2 separate regions of the Homo sapiens genome follow, and region 1 is linked to region 2. Evidence: promoter capture Hi-C in human tissues and cell types (Jung and others, 2019). All regions are on one chromosome and are shown on one strand. The core of a region is centred on a gene start or on the middle of the fragment in contact, and the rest is flanking DNA. Distances in the headings are between cores, read along the strand shown.

Region 1 (3,065 bases), core at 518-3,017, 400 kb after region 2:
TACTTTGTTCCTTTTGAAAACAGAAAAGCTGGTTCCTAATACAAAACTGTGATTGATTTAGAAAAGAATGGTTATCTATAAGAGTGGATGAAGCCGTTTCAATACCCCGAAGGAAAGCAAAATCCCCAAGGTCTTTCAGTATTCAAAATTGACTCATAAAATGAAACGTCTCTCATTTTATGAGGTTTGGCCCAAATTTTCTCCTACTGTTTTGTTTTTTGTTTTACTATGTCCTATCTGGCTTCGAAGGTATATTATACTGACATTTCAGATCACAGATACTGATATCTTCCCCAGAACTAGGAATCATTTTACTCTGCTGACCCCTCATGCTGTAAATATGTAGTAGTTGTATTCACTGTGGTTTAACATCAATTTTAATGAGCAGGAATAAACAAAAGACCTAAAACCAAGTCTTCCAAGGTCCTTCCTTTACTAATGCTCTAATCTGTATACTCAGCTAGAGCTGTGAACATTTCTGACACAGCTCTATAGACTGACTGTAGAGAGAGTGTAAAGGATGTTGCCAGGCAACTCATCTAAGTTTGAAAGAATCTAAGCATTGATAATGAGTCTTTCTCAGTTTGGCTCCCACACAAGAAGGGTTTTAGTGAACTCTCACATGTGTTTACAGGCCATTCACAAGAGGTATTTCTAAAAGTAAGTATCTGTATCCAAAAGGAGTCCATCTCGGAAACCTATATTTCTTTTCTAATTCAAGTTTAATGTTTCCAGCATCACAAGTATTTTCTATAATCACCAGAAATCCAACAGGAATTAGGCATAAAGGTTGTATGCAAAAGTGTTGCATAGAACACTTTTGTGTCTAGTGTTGAATGAATATTCTTATTCACATCTTCAACATTTCTGTTTGCACATGGCCACAGCAAAATTTCTTTAAGTATCTCAAATCACAAAAGTAACCCTACTTACCTAAAACTACTTATCTACCAAAATTATTTTAATTCTTTTGAAAATTACCTTTGAAATTATTTTCAATACTTACTCTCATTATTGTATCAAAGTCAAAACAGGGCATTCAGTAAAAACTATGTTCTATTAAGAAGAATAGGCAATCAGTTGCAAAAGAGGTAACATGTTTTTATGAGTAGTATACATGCAAAACACTGCTCTGCTGGATGGGCCTGATCCAATCCTCCCTCTTTCAAAGCAGACACTTTGCATGCATGCTTACCAGGGCAGTATGCATCCACGTCCAGTTTCTGAGCTGAAGTGAGGGTTGGTGAGCCAAGCTCGGATTCTGGAATTCGTGGGCTCTCAACAAACTTTGCCTTCCTCAGAGGGGCTAAGAACAAAAAGAGAGAGAGAGCAAGCAAGAGACAGAGAGAGCAAGAGAGAAAGAAAGAGAAAGGAAGGGAGAGAAACAGGGAAAGAGAAGGAAAAAGGGAAAGAGAGAAACATAGAGGGGTCATGAGTAAGGGGAACAGCAGGCAACAGATGGAAGCACTTAAATGAACGACACACTCTGTCAGACTCAGATCAGGTTACCCTATTTTTTGAGCCAGAAAAAAAAAAAAAAAACTAACTGCATTCTTCATAGAGGAGATGGGTCTTGTTAAAAGTCACTGAAAACTGGAAAAGCTAAAATCTAATATTCAAAACTATTAGTATAAATTGTGATTGTCTGTTACCTTATTTCTCTCTCTTTATAAAGCAAAGAGCTTTCTTACTTTGGCTTCTTTTGCCATTAAATACAGATGTTAACTAAGGAAAGCACAGGACTATGTTTCAAGGTTTTGTTTATAATAACTGTAATCAAAAGGTTTTTGTTATCCAGAAATAACTACTCTAATACTTGGTCATGATAAACACCATAAGTAGGATTAAATATAAGCCATCAGGCCTAATCTACGTAGCTTAACAAGAAAATCAATTACCTTACTTCTCAGCTATTAATGTAAGAAGTCAAAACTGCTGGTGGACTAAAGCATTAACTAGGCCCTGCTAGTTTGACACTAGAAGCTAAAGACATGTGATTTAGTTACCAATTTAATCATGATGCCTATGGAATATTAATATCTCATGCCATGGAATCCATTCATTCTTGTAAGGAATAAAGTATAACTCATGAATTGAAAGTTTTACTTATTGAAAGTATGTACACATTTTATTTACTAATTTTTAGGAGGAAAAATTCAGGAATGCTATTGATACACATTCGAATAATCAGTTATTGTAAAAGTTAAAATATGAGGATTGCTTAGGTGCTTTCAAACTGAGTTCTATTAAATAAACTATAATAGGGTGACAGTGCTTAGCACAGTACTGGCACAAAGTATTAGTTGAATCTGAAATTGATTTGTTTGTATTATATATTAGTGTCATAATCATAGGTGGCCAAGACATGTGTCTAAGATCACATTACTTTTCTCAAAAGTTTCTGCATGTTCTTCAAAGTCCTCATCCATTACTGACCCACAAGAGATTCTACGTTATTCCTAAAAGACCCTGTAAAAAGTAATATACAACTCTGTTATCACAATGGTCAGAAATCTCCTTCATTTTCTTTGAAGGATAAAAATCAAGTATTAAAAGTATATAGAAACTATTTTCAAAATGTGTCAATACTCAAAACCAACAGACAACTAAGTCACGCTTTATACCTTAGGGTATGTATATTTTCAGTATATGTTAAAAAATAATAAAGCCTGTTACTGTCTCCATGGCAACAAAGGCCTAACATTAAGAGTCCTAACAGTATGGTTCTGTCAAAAGCAAGCTTTGGAATAGCAGAACTCTCACCTTTGCTATGAGTGTGAGACTTGAGCCTGTTTTTAAAAATCATTATTACAAATAAAGATCTCAAGTGATTTATATGTATATATGCAGGCTACTAATAGCCAATATTAGAATCTCTTTCATTATAATTTCACCAACAGATTTAAAAATAATGAAACAGTTTATTTATTCAATACTGCTTAGTATAGGAAAAATGATTATATAGTAATTTAATCCTTAAGGCTCTTAAGTCCTTTACTAGAATTTTATTAAAGCATTGTCATGGCATCAGAGTAACTGTTTTACCTGCTGAGTTCTGACAAAGA
Region 2 (3,014 bases), core at 338-2,837:
CTCTGTCGCCCAGGCTGGAGTGCAGTGGCGCCATCTCGGCTCACTGCAACCTCCGCCTCCCAGGTTCAAGCAATTCTCCAGCCTCAGACTTCCGAGTAGCTGGGACTACAGGCGCACTAAGCTACGCCCGGCTTTTTTTTTTTTTTTTTTTTTTTTTTTTTTTTTTTTTTTTGTATTTTAGTAGAGACGGGGTTTCACCGTGTTACCCAGGCTGGTCGCGAACTCCTGAGCTCAGGTAATCCGCCCGCCTCGGCCTCCCAAAGTCCTGGGATTACAGGCGTGAGCCACCGCGCCCGGCCAGTTTTACTCTTCTTAAATCTGATGTTCATGGCATAAAGCAGGAGTAGTGGCTTTAAATATCACTAGCCACAGCTTTCAGTTGCTCTGATCGCTATCATTCACAACTTTGAGTAAAAGGAAGAAAGAAAATTCTTCCAACTGACTTATTCAACTTTCAAAAATGAGTTTGTTGCAATGCCAGTTTAAAAGCTCCCCTACTACACCGTGCTTCTATAAAGGATTCTCAAATTGATGTATGTCCAGCAAGACTTACTACTAAAGGTCACACAACTGTACTAGCACGAAACAAGCCAAGAGATAAGGCCCTGTCATCCTTCTGTGTTCAGGAAACAACGGCGGGATCATGCCACAGGCCAAGATTTCCAAAGAGATTGCTTTAGAGAGAATGGATATCAGGAAGCAAGAGCAACAGTAATTCTGGCAGAAGGGCTAGGATCCATGAGTACCCGGGGGGGGTGGGAGTAGGGGGCGGGGAAGCTTGTACAATAGATCGTCTTAATAGAAATCTAGTGTGGCCAGGAGTGCACGACCACCAATAGAAGCGCCTGCATTTTCCTTCACAGCTATCACTCTCTCTTCCCTTCCCCGCCCACCAACGAAAGCAATGCGGCAGGAGTGGAGAGCACGGGATGAATAAATGGAGTATCTTTGGGGCGTAAACCCGGTTTTAAGACCTGTTTCCACCCCGAAATAGCTGCCTGACCCAGGCAAGTCACAAAACCGTGCCTCAGTTTCCCCACTACACTGCCGACTACACAAGAATGCTGCCTGGATTAAAGGAGACAGACAACGAGTACGAAACCTTCAGCACAGGGCCAGACAGAGGAACCGCTCCGTGGCCCTAGGGCGAGTCCGCAAGAGGGTTCTGAGGCCTGGGCTCCGGCCCGGAAAGGGCGCTCCCGGGGCCCGCTCCCCGCCAGCTGGGTTCCGAGCCCCTGCCCGGCCCACCTTGTTGTTGTACTCCTCCACGAAGCTGCCCAGCGCCAAGCGAAAGCGCTTATCGGGCCGCACACTCCAGTTCATCGCGTAGACTGTCCAGGGCGCTTCATACTTGTAGATCTCCTTCCGTTTGCCGTGCAGGGACATGGTGGCCACGGGGCCGCAGTACGGGCCGGGTCAACAGTGGGCTGCGGCGGGCGGGGAGCCGAGCCTGAGATCTATGGGTCCGAAGGGAGGAGAGGAGGGGGCGGGCAGGAACGGCCTAACCCGGAAGCGGGGATGCGGCGACAAACAACGACGACGGCCGAGCCCGACCCCTAGTTTCAAACCAGCTTGGGAACGGACGACAACCACCTTCCGTTTTGGGACGCCGCCCCGCCCTCTCGGAACGGAAGCCGCCGGACCCCCGCAGCGGCACCGGCCGTTGGTTGCCTGACACGTCCTTTCGAAAGGATTCTTTCTTGTCATTGGTTATTGCGGCCGTAGCGTCTGAAATCTCCTCGCTATTGGGTTAAATGTTTGTCATTGCAACTACTCGCCCCGCCCAACTCTCGGAGGCAGGCGCTTTGGCAGCCCCAAAGGTCATTGGTTGGCCAAGATGTCAGTCAGGCAGATAACGGCTCAGTGCGGGTGGTGGGGGCGTGGGTGGCCTGGAGGCGAGCGTGCTGTAGCAGCGGGCCTCCAAGTTCTAGGCCAAGTCTCTGAGAGTGAAACCGTCTGTGACCTGCGCTGACTTCCCCTCCGCTGCTGCTGTTCTGAGCGGCCTCTCCACGCTGTCGAGTAAAAGTACAATTCTGCCTTAGTGGAAGACCTACTGACTTTCGCGGGACAGAGCCCTGCGGCCTGGCAGCCTGGCCTGCGCCCAACGGGTACCACCTTCCCGCCCCATCTCTTCCCAGGGCCCTTTTAACCCGAAAGCTGCTCTCTCCGTGCCTCAGGGACAGGCTTCGGGCGCGCAGATGCGCTCAGGGCCAGGCCAGCTTGAGTCAGGCCCTCCCGCGCTTTCCTGCAGGATCTAGAAATGTCCCCGAATTCTGGGGTAGGCACCGACCCGACCAGCTTGGCTCTGTTTTTGTCAGTTCCCATCCTGTACCCTTCCCGCCGTGGATCCCAACGCAAATGCTAATCCAGCCCCAAAGGTATCTGTGCCTGTGAGTTGGAAAAGGGGAAGGGCCAGAGACCAAATGACACCTTTATATAAATTATTTCCAATTCTCAGCTTTCATCAAAATTGAAGGAGGTTTGTATTGAATTGTTGGATGATAACATTAAATACTTTTTTTTTTTTTTTTTAAAGACAGGGTCTTGCCCTGTCACCCAGGCTGGAGTGCACTGGTGTGATAAGGGCTCACTGTAGCCTGGACTGCCTAGGTTCAAACGATTCCCCCACTTTAGCCTCTGGAGTAGCTGGAACCACAGACATTTGCCACCACACCTAGCTATTTTTAAATTATTATTTGTAGAGATGAGATCTCTCCATGTTGCCCAGGCTGATCTCGAACTCCTGGGCTCAAGCGATCCTCCCACATCAGCATCCTAAAGTACTGGGATTACAGGCTTGAGCCACCATTCTGGGCACTAAATATAATTTTTAATGATAAATGATTTTTCCACCTCCCAGGTTCAAGTGATTCTCCTGCTTCAGCCTCCCGAGTAGCTGAGATTACAGGGGTGCACCACCACAGCCAGCTAATTTTTGTATTTTTAGTAGAGATGGGGTTTCACCATGTTGGCCATTCTGGTGTCGAACTCCTGACCTCAAATGATCTTCCAGC

Evidence for each region. Contacts are between HindIII fragments. The study calls those that stand out against the background at their distance.
Region 1: a contact is called between a fragment that was not itself captured here and the fragment with the promoter of DCAF7 in region 2, in 1 of the 25 tissues and cell types used here (dorsolateral prefrontal cortex).

Annotation. Positions count from the first base shown.
Region 1 is chr17:63,149,511-63,152,575 of GRCh38, reverse strand. TANC2 (tetratricopeptide repeat, ankyrin repeat and coiled-coil containing 2) reads right to left here. Exons shown (of 28, transcript NM_001394998.1): 5 at 1,196-1,306. Among named protein-coding and RNA genes, the nearest start is that of TANC2, 180 kb to the right of the region's middle. The HindIII fragment of the contact is 6,371 bases long and covers 1-3,065 here.
Region 2 is chr17:63,549,050-63,552,063 of GRCh38, reverse strand. It overlaps DCAF7 (DDB1 and CUL4 associated factor 7), which reads right to left and starts at 1,587. Exons shown (of 7, transcript NM_005828.5): 1 at 1,249-1,587. The coding sequence starts at 1,386. RefSeq lists silencers at 1,094-1,243, 1,264-1,313 and enhancers at 1,464-1,543, 1,984-2,373, 1,673-2,657. The HindIII fragment of the contact is 12,507 bases long and covers 1-3,014 here.